Regions from separate parts of the Homo sapiens genome. Here regions 1, 2 and 4 are each linked to region 3. Evidence: promoter capture Hi-C in human tissues and cell types (Jung and others, 2019). All regions are on one chromosome and are shown on one strand. Each heading gives the region's core, a stretch centred on a gene start or on the middle of the fragment in contact. The rest is flanking DNA. Distances are from core to core; before and after follow the strand shown. Region 1 has its middle 18 kb from the start of ASH1L. Region 2 has its middle 13 kb from the start of MSTO1. Region 3 holds the start of THBS3 (thrombospondin 3). Region 4 holds the start of ASH1L (ASH1 like histone lysine methyltransferase).

The links. Contacts are between HindIII fragments. The study calls those that stand out against the background at their distance.
Region 1: a fragment that was not itself captured here is called in contact with the fragment with the promoter of THBS3 in region 3 in 1 of the 25 tissues and cell types used here (liver).
Region 2: a contact is called between a fragment that was not itself captured here and the fragment with the promoter of THBS3 in region 3, in 1 of the 25 tissues and cell types used here (liver).
Region 4: the fragment with the promoter of ASH1L here is called in contact with the fragment with the promoter of THBS3 in region 3 in 3 of the 25 tissues and cell types used here (IMR-90 fibroblasts, heart left ventricle and lymphoblastoid cells).

The regions. Positions count from the first base shown.
Region 1 is chr1:155,578,546-155,582,117 of GRCh38, forward strand. It overlaps a transcript of MSTO1 not described here. Among named protein-coding and RNA genes, the nearest start is that of ASH1L, 18 kb to the left of the region's middle. The HindIII fragment of the contact is 8,727 bases long and covers 1-3,572 here.
Region 2 is chr1:155,621,535-155,624,971 of GRCh38, forward strand. It overlaps the pseudogene LOC100419798. Among named protein-coding and RNA genes, the nearest start is that of MSTO1, 13 kb to the left of the region's middle. The HindIII fragment of the contact is 8,414 bases long and covers 1-3,437 here.
Region 3 is chr1:155,206,532-155,209,746 of GRCh38, forward strand. It overlaps THBS3 (thrombospondin 3), which reads right to left and starts at 1,366. Exons shown (of 23, transcript NM_007112.5): 1 at 1,267-1,366. The coding sequence starts at 1,345. MTX1 (metaxin 1) reads left to right here and starts at 2,164. Exons shown (of 8, transcript NM_002455.5): 1 at 2,164-2,801. The coding sequence starts at 2,274. RefSeq lists an enhancer at 367-1,150 and a silencer at 2,514-2,713. The HindIII fragment of the contact is 12,638 bases long and covers 1-2,718 here.
Region 4 is chr1:155,561,286-155,564,650 of GRCh38, forward strand. It overlaps ASH1L (ASH1 like histone lysine methyltransferase), which reads right to left and starts at 1,518. Exons shown (of 28, transcript NM_018489.3): 1 at 868-1,518. ASH1L-AS1 (ASH1L antisense RNA 1) reads left to right here and starts at 757. Exons shown (of 2, transcript NR_147964.1): 1 at 757-1,001; 2 at 1,965-2,659. It also overlaps a transcript of MSTO1 not described here. RefSeq lists silencers at 1,309-1,458, 1,509-1,648, 2,733-3,027 and an enhancer at 1,537-2,104. The HindIII fragment of the contact is 36,648 bases long and covers 1-3,365 here.

The DNA.
Region 1 (3,572 bases), core at 711-3,210, 370 kb after region 3:
TTTAGCCCAGGCCAGACTGCAGTGGCACAATCTCGGCTCACTGCAAGCTCCGCCTCCCAGGTTCACGCCATTCTCCTGCCTCAGCCTCCCGAGTAGCTGGGACTACAGGCGCCCGCCACCGCGCCCGGCTAATTTTTTGTATTTTTAGTAGAGATGGGGTTTCACCGTGTTAGCCAAGATGGTCTCGATCTCCTGACCTTGTGATCCGCCCGCCTCGGCCTCCCAAAGTGCTGGGATTACAGGCGTGAGCCACCGCGCCCGGCCCTGTGTGGTTTTTTTTTTGTTTTTTTTTTTTTCAGTAGAGACGAGGTTTCGCCATATTGGCCAGGCTGGTCTCAAACTCCTGACCTCAGGTGATCTGCCCACCTCGGCCTCCCAAAGTGCTGGGATTACAGGTGTGAGCCACTGCACCCGGCCCATAACTACCTTTAATAATTGAAAAGCTGTCATGTGGAAGATGGCTTGTAAAACCCAAGAGGAGGCCAGGTGTGGTGGCTCACGCTTGTCATCCCAGCACTTTGGGAGGCTGGGGCAGGCGGATCACCTGAGGTTGGGAGTTCAAGACCAGCCTGACCAACATGGAGAAACCCCGTCTCTACTGAAAATACAAAATTAGCTGGACATGGACATGGTGGCGCATGCAGGCAATCCTAGCTACTCGGGAGGCCGAGGCGGGAGAATCGCTTGAACCCGGGAGGCAGAGGTTGTGGTGAGCCGAGATCAAGCCATTGCACTCTGGCCTGGGCAACAAGAGTGAAACTCCATCTCAAAACAAGCAAACAAACAAACAAACAAACAAACAAACAAAAAACCCAAGAGGAAGACTAGGACAGTGAATGGAAGCTACAAGGAGACATGTTGCCTCGAACTACTGAAGAACTTTTATTAAAAGCTGTGTAAAAACCATAATGACTTCCTATTGAGTTCCCCATCACTGGAAATCATTAGGCATTTGCTGATTGACAGTGTAGCATATATAGTGGCTAATGGGAAAGGCTTGAGAGTCAAACATAGATTTCAATTCTAAAACTGCCTGATTTTAGGATATATACCCTTGGAGTTAATCTATCCATACTTATTTTCAGCTGAGCATAATAACGTGTACCTGATGGGACTGTTGTAAGATAATGCCTTTAATTTGCTTATTATAGAGCCTATTTCAGAAAAATATTCAGTGATTAATATTAAGATCAATGTAGCACTGATTTAGTTCTGAACGAGTTCAATCCTTAGACTAGGTCGACATAATCTTAAGCATCTGTGGTTCTCGCCTGTAATCCCAGCACTTTGGGAGGCCGAGGCAGGCAGATCACTTGAGGTTGAGGAGTTTGAGACCAGACTGGCCAAAATGGTGAAACCTCGTCTCTACTAAAAATACAAAAATTAGCCAGGCGTGGTGGTGTGTCTGTAATCCCAGCTACTTGGGAGGCTGAGGCAAGAGAATTTCTTGAACCCGGGAGGCAGAGGTTGCAGTGAGCCGAGATCGGGCCACTGCCCTCCAGCCTGGGCAACAGAGCAAGAGTCCATCTCAAAAAGAAAAAAAAAAAAAAAAGAATCTGTTATTCTCTCTGGGTATAGTGGCTCGCACATGTAATCCCAACTACTCGTGAGGCTGAAGGGAGAGGTTGCATGGCCAGCGGTTTGAAACCAGCCTTGGTAACATAATGAGACCCTGACTCTAAGAAAAAAAAAAAAAAGGGCCGAGTGTGGTGGCTCACACCCGTAATCCCAGCATGTTGGGAGATGGAGGCAGGACGATCCCTTGTGCCCAGGAGTTTGAGACCAGACTGGGCAACATAGTAAGACCCTGCCCTGTCTCTACAAAAATAATAAAAATAAATTAGCCAGGCGTGGTGGTGTGCACCTGTGGTCCCAGTTACTTGGGAGGCTGAGGTGAAAGGATCATTTCGGCCTGAGAGTTCGAGGTTGCAGTGAGCCGTGATCACGCCACTGCACTGAAGTTTTAGCACATAGTCTTTGGGATACCTTTCTAAATTTGGCACAGGCTGTTTCTGACTTCCTTCTGAAGTTACATTTGGCCTGTCTAGGCAAGAATACTCTTTTTGTTGTTTGTTTAAAGAAAGATAATTTGGCCAGGTGCGGTGGCTCACGCCTGTAATCCCAGCACTTTGGGAGGCCGAGGTGGGCGGATTGCCTGAGCTGAGGAGTTCAAAACCACCCTGGGCAACATGGTGAAACCCCATCTCTACTAAACACCAAAAAATTAGCCAAGTGTGGTGGCATGCATCTGTACTCGGGAGGCTGAGGCAGGAGAATTGCTTGAGCCCAGGAGGCAGAGGTTGCAGTGAGCCAAGATTGTGCCACTGCACTCCACTTGGGTAACAGAGTGAGACTCTGTCTCAAAAAAAAAAAAAAAAAAAAAGGGAGAGAGAACTCTAATACTCTAACACTACCTAAACAGTTTCATCAGAGTAGCGGCAGAGTTTTACACACAATAGTGTGTAAGAATCTGTGGTTTCTTACAGATTATTACAAATACAAAAAAATGTCTTTTTACATGCATTTGGAAAAGCTTCAAAAGACTAAGGCAACTATTTGGGATTTGTTTATCTACATTTTATTTTGTTTTTTAATTGTTTTTAAGAGACGCAGTCTTGCTATCTTGCCAGGCTGGTCTTGAACTCCTGGGCTCAAGTGATCCTTATACCTCGGCCTCCCAAAGTGTGGGCATTATAGGTGTGAGTCACCTCATCCAGCCATTATCTACATTTTAAATAAAGACTGTGGTTGGAAGCAGAACTCTTTTGTCTTGGAATACTTGAGGCAGATAATGGGGAAAAGCTCAGAATGATGGCAGTTGAAAAATATTGGAGAAGTATTTTATTTTACTTTATATTTTATTATTATTATTATTTTGAGACAGAGTCTCACTCTGTCGACCAGGCTGGAGTGCGGTGGTGTGATCTCAGCCCACTTCAACCTCCTCTTGAACCTGGGAGGGTTCAAGCAGTTCTCATGCCTCAATCTCCCAAGTAGCTGGGATTATAGGCATGTCCCACCTCGCCCATCTAATTTTTGTATTTTTAGTAGAGATGGGGTTTCGCCATGTTGACCAGTACTCCTGACCTCAAGTGATCTTCCTGCCTCAGCCTCCCAAAGTACTGGGATTACAGGCGTGAGCCACTGCGCCCGGCATGGAGAAGTATATTAATGACATTTTTGAGAATTTTGTTTGTTTTGGCTTCCTATTAGGCTGGAGATAATTATCATTCATCTTTAATTTTTACCATAATTTTTTTTTTTTTGAGATGTAGTCTTGCTCTGTCACCCAGGCTGGAGTGCAGTGGCGCGATCTTGGCTCACTACAACCTCCGCATCCCCGGTGCAAGCGATTCTCCTGCCTCAGCCTTCCGAGTAGCTGGGACTACAGGTGTGCACCACCATGTCTGGCTTTTTTTTTTTTTTTGAGTCGGAATTTCGCTCTTGTTGCCCAGGCTGGAGTGCAATGGCATGATCTCGGCTCACCGCAACCTCCACCTCCTGAGTTCAATCATTTTTTGTATTTTTAGTAGAGACAGAGTTTCACCATGTTAGCCAAGGTGGTCTCGATC
Region 2 (3,437 bases), core at 457-2,956, 420 kb after region 3:
AAGTGCTGTGGCACAATCTCGGCTCACTGCACCCTCTGCCTTCCAGGCTCAATCTATTCTCCTGCCTCAGCCTCTTGAGTAGCTGGGATTACAGGCATGCGCCACCACGCCCAGCTAATTTTGTATTTTTAGTAGAGACAGGGTTTCCCCATGTTGGTCAGGCTGGTCTCCAACTCACGACCTCAGGTGATCCACCTGCCTCGGCCTCCCAAAGTGCTGGGATTATAGGCGTGAGCCACCATGACTGGCCCTTACAGGTTTAAAACTCTTGATATTATGAAATAGAATTTTAGATTACCATAAGTCATTTGTTTTGCCAAAAGGATGACTCAAAAATTTGAAAAAGCAAAATGCTTTGATTAGCCTTTACTATTACATAAAAATCCTGTTCAAGAGAGAAAGCCAAATTTTACCCTTGCATAAGTCTGCTATTAATGTTAACCCCAATTTTAATGAAATCCTATAGACAATTCTATTTAATCTTTTTTTTTTTTTTTTTTTTTGGCAGTGGCAAGATTTATTAAAGTGAAAGTAAAGTTTCCACATGGTGGAAGGGGACCTGAAAGGGCTGCCATTTTTGGCTTGGGTGTCTTATACTTATATCCCCTTATGACCCCTCCCCTTTTTCTTTTTCTGTCCTATAGAATTAGCTTATTTTCTATCCACTTGTGGGTAGGTGGGCATGATTGGTTAAAAACATCAGGCTGCAGCTAGAGCTTAAACTCCCTATATGATTGGTTGAAGGTTCAATCCCTTAGTTTGCAGCTATAACTCATTTTGGCTTAGGGGAAAGTTCCCTTAGGGAAGTCCCTATTGACCCAGGAAGTCCAGCCAACTTAGCCACTTAGTCCCTCAGTCCCTCCTCTCAAAAGGAAAGCCCAAGTGCCGTTGGGAAGTTGGGCAACAATCATTCTAGCTACTTCCTGCTGAGCTGGGGTGTAGAAGGGGCTCTGCAGTTGAGCCTTCCTCAGGAGGGGAGTCTTCAGTGTCATGGTGCAAGAACAGATTGGTGGGTCAGTCTAGGGGTCCTCGATAGCAGGTGCTAGTGGTGGTCATTTGGGGCTCCATCTGTAGAATCATTTGCAGTTTCATGGATTCTATTCTGGAAGAGACAAATTTTACAAGGAGGTTAAAAATGCAGGGTCCAGAGATAAGCAACATCACAATAGCCACCAAGGGTCCCAAGAAGGGGAGAAACCAGGGCATCCATTGGTTGACAATACTCCAAAGTCCTGTGTCTTGGAGCTCTTGTGCCTGGCACTGTATCTGGTCTCGAAGCTCCTTAACCTTTTTTGGTGACAATTCTGTATTGATTAACAAAATAGTAACACTCTTCTCCTAGAAAAAGACAGGTTCCACTTCTTTCAGCTGTTAATAAATTTAAGGCTTTCCAATTCTGGAGGGCTACTGCTGCTAAAGAGTTAAGCTAGCTTTGTAAGGTGACCAGTGAATCTGCAACTCGTTCCATGTCATCATTTAACTCTTGTGATAATTTGTAATATGTTGGGGTGATCAGACCCAACACCAGGCTGTGGGGGCTACGAAGTCCGGCGGAGTCAAAGGAATGAGATAAGTTAAGAGTGCAAGAAGTGGGACCAGGGGGTCAATGCTAGTATGGAGGCTGTGAAGGCCCTGAGCTCTTGAAGCCTGCACTATTTATTGGTGATCAAACAAAGAAGCAGGTGGTGAGGATGTGGGGGTTCAAAGAAAGCAGTGTATCAAGTGTGTGATCTACAGCTGTGACAGTTTAGCATTTTCTTTGAAGCATATGGAACATGTTCTGCTACTTGAGATAATGGGGAACATGTTCTTCTAGTTTAAGACACAATCGATCTATGAGCCTGGGAGGGCTAGAAACAAGGAGCCAGCAAATCTAGACACATTCCAGAGGCCACAAGGGGTTTTATGCCCTGAGCCCTGGATTCCATTCAAGCCATGAGGGGTTTTATGCCCTTGGCTTAGAGTGTGGTGCAGCAGGGCAGCCTTTCACCCTTTGGCACAGAGCTTGGTGTTCCAAAGGCCACAAGGGGTTTTAGACCCTGGACCCTGGACCCTGGACCTGTTCTAAGACTCTTTTACATTATATCAGACATGCAAGCCCTGCCTCAGCTTTTTCCCCAACACTCAGCTTTTTTCCCAACACTCAGCTTTTCCCCAACAGTAAGAGAATTGGGTGGAGGTGGTAATGCCTCCAATGCCAGTTCCTAGACCTCCTAGTATCCTAGCCCTGAAAATGAATGGCAGGATAGTCGAGGTATGCTGAGATGCTGGGTTTGACAGATCTTTAAAGGCAAATAAAAATTGCGAGTTAGGATGCAGAGGGATGCAGAAGAAAGCGTCCATAAGATCTAGGACTGTAAACCATTCTGCTTCCTCTGGTATCTGGGAGAGTAGAGTATAAGGATTAGGTACAACTGGATTGTTGGGAACAAGCCCCTCCAAATCTGGTCATAAACTGGCCCCAAAACTGGCCATAAACAAAATATCTGCAGCACTGTGACATGTTCATGATGGCAATAAAGCCCATGCTGGAAGGTTGTGGGTTTACCGGAATGAGGGCAAGGAATACCTGGCCCACCCAGGGCAGAAAACCACTTAAAGGCATTCTTAAGCCACAAACAATAGCATGAGTGATCTGTGCCTTAAGGACATGCTCCTGCTGCAGTTAACTAGCCCAACCTATTCCTTTAATTTGGCACATCCCTTCATTTCCCATAAGGGATACTTTTAGTTAATTTAATATCTGTAGAAACAATGCTGATGACTGGCTTGCTGTTAATAAATACGTGGGTAAATCTCTGTTCAGGGCTCTCAGCTCTGAAGGCTGTGAGACCCCTGATTTCCCACTTCACACCTCTATATTCTGTATGTGTGTCTTTAATTCCTCTAGTGCTGCTGGGTTAGGGTCTCCCTGACCAAGCTGGTCCTGGCACTGGATACAGGGGAACAACTGCCTCAATGATAATTCAGAGGTCTTTCACTAACCTCCACTGTCTGTTGGGTTTTTGTATGCCTAGAATAGGACTGTTGCCTGGACTGTTGCATGGCTTTACTAATCTCTGTGCTTGTAGGTCTTTGACAATCTTTTGTAACCCTTGTTGGGCTTCTGGTCAGAGGGGGTACTGCTTTGATAAGGAAAGAAAGTAGGATCCTTTAATTTAACTTGAACTGGACAAGCATTTTTTGCTTGTCCATACTGCTCTTGCTCTTCCTCTGCCCAGACTTCAGGATTAACTCCCTCCTTGAGTAGGGCAGCAAACAGGTATTCCTTCTCCTATATTCAAGTATATAATGGCCCCTGCTTTAGCTAATATGTCTCTCCCTAGTAAAGGAGTAGGGCTCTCAGGCATAATAAGAAAGGCATGTGAGAATAATAAGGTTCCCCAGTCACAATTTAGGGGGTGGGAGAAATACCTAGTGACTGAGTGTCCTAAGAC
Region 3 (3,215 bases), core at 116-2,615:
TGGCTGGGCATGGTGGCTCGCACCTGTAATCCCAACACCTTGGGAGGTTGAGGCAGGTGGATCGCCTAAGGTCAGGAGTTCGAGACCAGCCTGGCCAACACGGTGAAACCCCGTGTCTACTAAAAATACAAAAACAACAACAAAAAAGAAAAAAAAACCACCTAGCCGGGCGTGGTGGCGGGCACCTGTAATCCCAGCTACTCAGGAGGCTGAGGCAGGAGACTCGCTTGAACCTGAGAGGTGGAGGTTGCAGTGAGCCGAGATCGCGCCATTGCACTCCAGCCTGGGCAACAAGAGTGAAACTCCATCTCAAAAAGACAAAACGAAAACAAAAAAAAACCTCAACCCTTGTTGCTCTCAGAGGACAGAGGCACTGTGCCTTCCTTTCCCCATTATTGCCTATTACTACCTTCCAGGAACCTGCAGGTTTGAGACTCACTTGGAAACACAGAAACAGCACCCCACAAATTTGAGATGCCCCCACCAGGTGGCGCAAAGGAGATGCTGTGCTGATCCCCCACAGGAGTGGCACCTGGTGTCCACAACGTAGAAATGGAAGGCAGCTTCTCTTTCCACTCCTGGGTTTGGCTCGTTCCACACCCTAGTTCCCCTCCTCCCATCCTAGGGGCGCAGCACACTCGCTCTGGATAAGAACAGCTGCCCACTGAGGACTCTAACCCTCCCACCATCTGGGCTATCTCCCACGGGAATGTAGGACCCAGCTCCTCTGCCTCCTGTGTCCTGGCCAATCTGTGGTTTTCCCTCCAGCCAGTAAAGAATCTATGCCTGTGTCATCTGCTCCAGCTACCTCTCCCACATCCATCGGCCCATCCCACCACCAGACCTCCGGGAGAGCCCAGGCTTCTTGGTCCCCACCCCCGCCCTGTCCTTGGGCAGCCAGGAGCCCAGGGGGACGAAGCCCAGGGACCTACAGTACGCCCACCTTCAGGCTGCTCTCCCAGACCCTAGGGTGCCTACAGATGCTCAGGAACCACCCCAGCCAGGCAGCCTGAGCATCCAGTTCCTGAGTCCTCTGCCCTGGCCTCATGCCTGACCCTGTCCTGTTCCAGCTCCCCCACTACTCTCCGGTGCCCACTCCTCTCCACCAGGCCATAATTTCACCAACTCTAGGCAGTCTTAAGTTTTCCTCTGGCTCAATTTCTGGACTCTTCCCCTCTCCCCTTGCCCACATGTTCTCTGCTACTTGGGCTGAGGGCAAATGGGGAAGAAGCAGAGAGCGGTCTAAGAGGATGGAGACAGGCTTACCCTGCAGATCCTGACTGGCAGATGTGAAAAAGCAAAGGAGGAGAAGAGCCAGGGCCCCCCGAAGTTCCTGCGTCTCCATGCCTCTCAGCCGGCTCACTACCCCTGGCAGGCAGGCAGCTGGGAGGGGAAAAGGCTAGGCGGAGAGAGCAGGAGCCGGGGGGCGGAGGGACAGAATTGGAGGGGGGGCCAGCAGGCGGGTGAGGGGGGGCTGAAACAAAGAGCTGCCAATCACCCTGGAGGCATCATCAGCTCTGGGAACCAGGGGCACTGGGAAAGAATCCTGGAGGCCTCCCTGCTTTCTACCTCTCCCTAATGATCCTCCCCCAGGTGCCTCCCTCTCCGCAGTCATCATTGTTGGGGGTCTCGGCACACAGCGCTACCGAATGCCACTGTTTTCTGGAAGCCACGATTGTGGAAGGCAAGAACCCCTGGCAGGGGCAGTGCTAGACAGTGGGCATTATTCCACAGCTGGCAGGAAAGGATGCCAAGGGAGTGGCCGCAACTAGCTTGCTATAGTGCCCAGGGATGCCCACATGGCATGAATTTTGCTGTTCTGGCGGAGCAAGTGCTCTTTATTAGGGTGGGGGGTCCCCTGACAAGTGCCTGTTTCTCCATTTTCCCTCATTCGTAGGAAAGCTTGGGAGTCTGGAAGCGTCTGACGGGAACTGAAGGGAGAATCTAAAGCAGTGGTCAGTGAGGTCAGAGTGAAGAAACCAAAAAAGAGGAAAGGGACACCAGGGACAGGCGCAGAAGACCAGGGGTACAGGCGAGGAGCCAAGGACCAGACTGTGGAACACTGTGGGTACTAGCGGACGGGCCGTGACCCGGATGAAGCAGAGGGGCGCCTGAGTTCCCGTCACCTAAGCGACAGCCTGCGAGCCTCTCTTCCCCTCCCCCACCCAAGCCCCAGCCCGGCCTCCGCTCCGGCCGCCGCCACCGCCCCTGTTTTGTTTCCATGGCGACAGGCGGCGCAGGGCCCGCTCCAAACATAACGCGCTGTGGAAAACATGCTGCTCGGGGGACCCCCCCGCAGTCCCCGCTCGGGGACGAGCCCCAAGGGGCCCTGGAGCAGTACAGGCCACGTGCAGTTTGGCAAGAGCCCCCAGACCTGGCCCAGGCGCACAAGACCCCGCTCTCCAGAGCCTGCCGCGCCTTCAGGGGTTCGGGGCTCCACTTGGACGAGGCGCCGTGACTCTCCGAGGCGCGCCGGGCCGACAGCGCTGTCCCGCTACGTGGGCCACCTCTGGATGGGCCGGCGGCCGCCCTCCCCCGAGGCCCGCGGCCCAGTCCCCCGCAGTTCAGCTGCCAGTCGGGCCAGAAGAAGCCTCGCCTCCCCGGGGATCTCCCCAGGCCCCCTGACCGCAACGATCGGAGGGGCGGTGGCGGGGGGCGGGCCCAGGCAGGGGAGGGCAGAAGCACACAAGGAAGTGTTTCCGGGACAGAGGGTGGGCAAGATGGCGGCGCCCATGGAGCTGTTCTGCTGGTCAGGGGGCTGGGGGCTGCCGTCAGTGGACCTGGACAGCCTGGCCGTGCTGGTGAGGGGTGGCGCCGGCGCCCTCTGCTGTGCCCTGATGACTGGGGAGGGGGCCGAACTAGCCAAGCATCCAAACCTTGCCAGGGCTACTCAGCACGGGCGCAGTGGGGGAAACTGAGGCAGTCAAAGAGCGTACGTGGCCGATATGGCCTCAGTGCCCTATGCTGTAGTTTTCTAGGCTTAATGCAGCAATGAAAAGACGCCTGGTTGGGAGTTCAGGTGATGGGTTCTAGTCCTTGCTCATCCATTCACTGGCTGTGTGACCTTGCGGAGATCCTTTCTCTTTGGGCATTTTTTTTCTCCATTCGGAGGTTTACTAGGCTGGACTGTCTCAGGGACCTACTCTAGCTTGGAATTCCTGCCTTCTCCTCAGCCCCCTTCTCCTCTTCCTCCTCACTTAACAGCATTTACTGAG
Region 4 (3,365 bases), core at 268-2,767, 350 kb after region 3:
TAAAGATATTTTGGCCCTTCACATTTACACAACTCACTCTAACCAAAGGCACAAACTATTCTTAAGACCACAACTGGCTATGCCAAGTTTCTCCCCTCCCTGACCTCACAGACACATGCTGTACAGAACACTACCATTGCCGCTCTTTCCCAACAAGTAACTAGGGGCTCCCAATCCCTAAAATACACACACATATCAACCTGCAAGGAACCTCCCAACATTTATTCAAGAAATAAGCTAACTTATAAGGGGAACTCCATTACACTTACACAAATAAAGGCAAACTCTTACGGAAACACTTGCCATCCTCACATACACACACCAACACAGCCGCTACACACCAACAGACCATCTGTCTGCTAGACCAAAAACATCTCTTTCCATGTACAAACTAACCAGTGACATTTATTAAACTTACAACACTGAGATCATCCTGTCGTTCCCACATACCGTTCAACGCGGCAGGGACACCACAGACCTTGTCACACAGGTAAAATCCCCTCTCAAGATCGTGTCCTCGACCACTCTTATCCCTTAATTAAACACACACAAACTGGACTATGGGGGAGGCTCCGATCATGCCTACAAACACAAACTAACCTGTCAGGGGCACAGCCGACTCCGCCTCCACTCGCTTACTTCCCAGCCCCCTCCGGGAGTCTGCCTGTCAGGGACACCCCTTCACCCCGCCTGGAGGGACTTCCCGGTAGGCTCAGGATCCCCCTCCCTGCTCTCCCCTCCCCCATCTTCACCACTGCTCTCTCAGAGATCCAGGTCCGGGAGATGACAGTGGCTCCCAGAAAGCCCAGGATTCAATCGCTGAGAGAGTGCTTAGGCCCGAATGCCGGCCCAAATCGTTCTACTCACCGTGTCGGAGGCCGAGGCCGAGGCCGAGAGCGATGAGAGTGCAGGGAAGTGGGGAAGAGGGGGTGGCCGCCAGGCTCCTCCGCTTCCCTGGGTCCACGGCGGATCCCTCCCGCTTGTCAGGAGGCGGCCAGCGGGTAAGCTGACTGGCGGAAATGCGAGAGAGGAGAAGGGAAAGGTGGAAGGCTAAAGGGGGCAAACTGAGGGGAGGCGGGTCCCGCAACCGAGACTGGGATCGTCTCCCCTCCGCAAAGCGAACCCAAAATGGCGGCGGGAGCGGCGGCGGCGGCGGCGGCAGCAGCAGAGTGGCGGCGGTGGCGGCGGCAGCTCCTCCAGAGGGAGGGAGCGAAGGGCGCCTAGCGCCCCCCTCAACCTTCCACTCCTTCCTCCTTGCGTTCTTTCCCACCGTCCCCCGCTCCGCCCGACTCCGTCCGCGTAGCGCGCACGCCCGCCCGCACGCGTACGAGTGTCTACGGGCTCGTCGCTGGCTGCTCCCACCAACCACCACCTTCGGCCGCCCCGCGCGCCAGCCAGCCCGTACGCGCTCACCCACAGGAACCCCCTCGTCCAGTCCCTCACTACCCCTCAGGCCCTGTCAAGCCGGCGCCGGCGCAGGCCCTCACGCGTACCTTCAACGGCGCAAGCCCAAGCCTCCTCCTCCTCCTCCTCCACCTCCTCTTCTCTCCTCCCCCCCCTTCCCCGCCCCCACGGCCACCAACCGCCGCCACGGCCGCCGCCGCCGCCGCCAGCCCCCCCTACCACCCTCCACCCCTCGCGCGTGCGCCTCCCACAATCCCCCCCGCGGGACTGTTCCATTCCTGTCGGCTGCAGGGGCAGGAGAGGAAGGGACGGGCCGAGCGGGTCGGGGCTTGCCGTTTGACTGGAATTGCCAGAATGGCGGACCGAGCCCCACGACAACCTACCTCCCTGGGCTCCTCGCCGCAGCGCTGCGGCTCGCCTCCCTCTGCTCCTCCTCCTCCGCCGGATCGCGGCGAGCGGATCGAGGACTGCCTAGCGCCCCTCTGCCCACCGGTGGTTGGAGGCCGCGGCGGCTGCGCGTTGAGTCGTTTCCTGCCGGTTGACCTGAGCCTACTTCGCAGTAGCAGGACCGCTGCTGTGGAGCTGGTCGCAGGCGGTGTGTGCCGGTCGCCTAGTCAGGAGAACTAGTCCTCGACTCACGGTGAGGGAATGGACCGACACGGGTATTGTACCGCTGAGGGAAAGGAGCGGGACTCCGGACCTCCAGGAGGTAGGGAGTGAGGCCAGTAGGACCGGCGCGCCTCCGGGGGGATTCCTCCCGGGCGTTGAGTTGCCAACCTGGGACCCGAGGAAGATCGGCGTGGTGGTGTGCTTTTTGTTGTTGTTAACCCTCCTCGGATTTCTCGAATTTCACACCACTGTCCATATGCGATGATGTTTGTTTGCCCTTGACGCACTTACTCATGGATGGTACTTCTTCAGCCTCGTTAGACAGCCTGGTGATGGAGGATGAAGAAACCATGTGCTTTTCATTCAGTTCTGGACTTAGTCTCCCTTTTCTTCCTTCAGCAAGTTATTTTTGTTAGTTCCTTATCAAAAAGTGTACATAAAAATTAGGCAACTCCAAACATGCCTCCAGGGTTAATGTGTGAAATAATAAGATAATATATGTAAAGTGGAATTAGCTCCTAGGCATAGGGAAAGTGCAGAATATTGCCGTGTTGTCATTTACAGTTCTGTTGATGTCGATAACGTTTGTGGGTGTAATTGGTAGTGTTCTGTCCCTCCAAGGAGTTAATAAAACAAAGCAAACATAGGCCTGTTAGGTTTCTGTGGCTACTGAATATTTGTTTCTCAAAACACTTGACTGATATTTGATAATTGAATGCAGCAGAAATACGGACGATTAAAGTCCACAAATAATTCCAAAGTTTACTTGATCTAGTAGTTTTTACCTTTACCTAAAGGGTAAAGCAGAATAAATTACCGGAAGGATCTACTTGGGTTTCCCTTTCCTTCACATTTGTGGACTCCTGGGGATCCAGGAAGTAATTCAGAAATGACTGTTCAAAAGCCCATGCAAGGCCGGGCGCGGTGGCTAACGCTTGTAATCCCAGCGCTTTGGGAGGCCAAGGTGGGCGGATGACCTGAGGTCAGGAGTTCGAGACCAGCCTGGCCAACATGGCAAAATCCCGTCTCTACTAAAAATACAAAAATTAGCCAGGCGTGGTGGTGGACGCCTGTAATCCCAGCTACTCAGGAGACTGAGGCAGGAGAATCGCTTGAACCTGGGAGGCGGAGATTGCAGTGAGCCGAGATGGTGCCATTGCACTCCAGCCTGGGCAACAAGAGCGAAACTCCATCTGAGGGAAAAAAATAAAAATAAAAAGCCCTTGCAACCTCCAAAATTCAAGTAGACAGTCCCAAATTTCCCCTTTAGGATACGTGGATTAAGTGTTGTTTACTTGTTTCGTTTCTTTAAGGTAAAGAGGAAAGCAGCCTTAATTACCTCATTGTATATT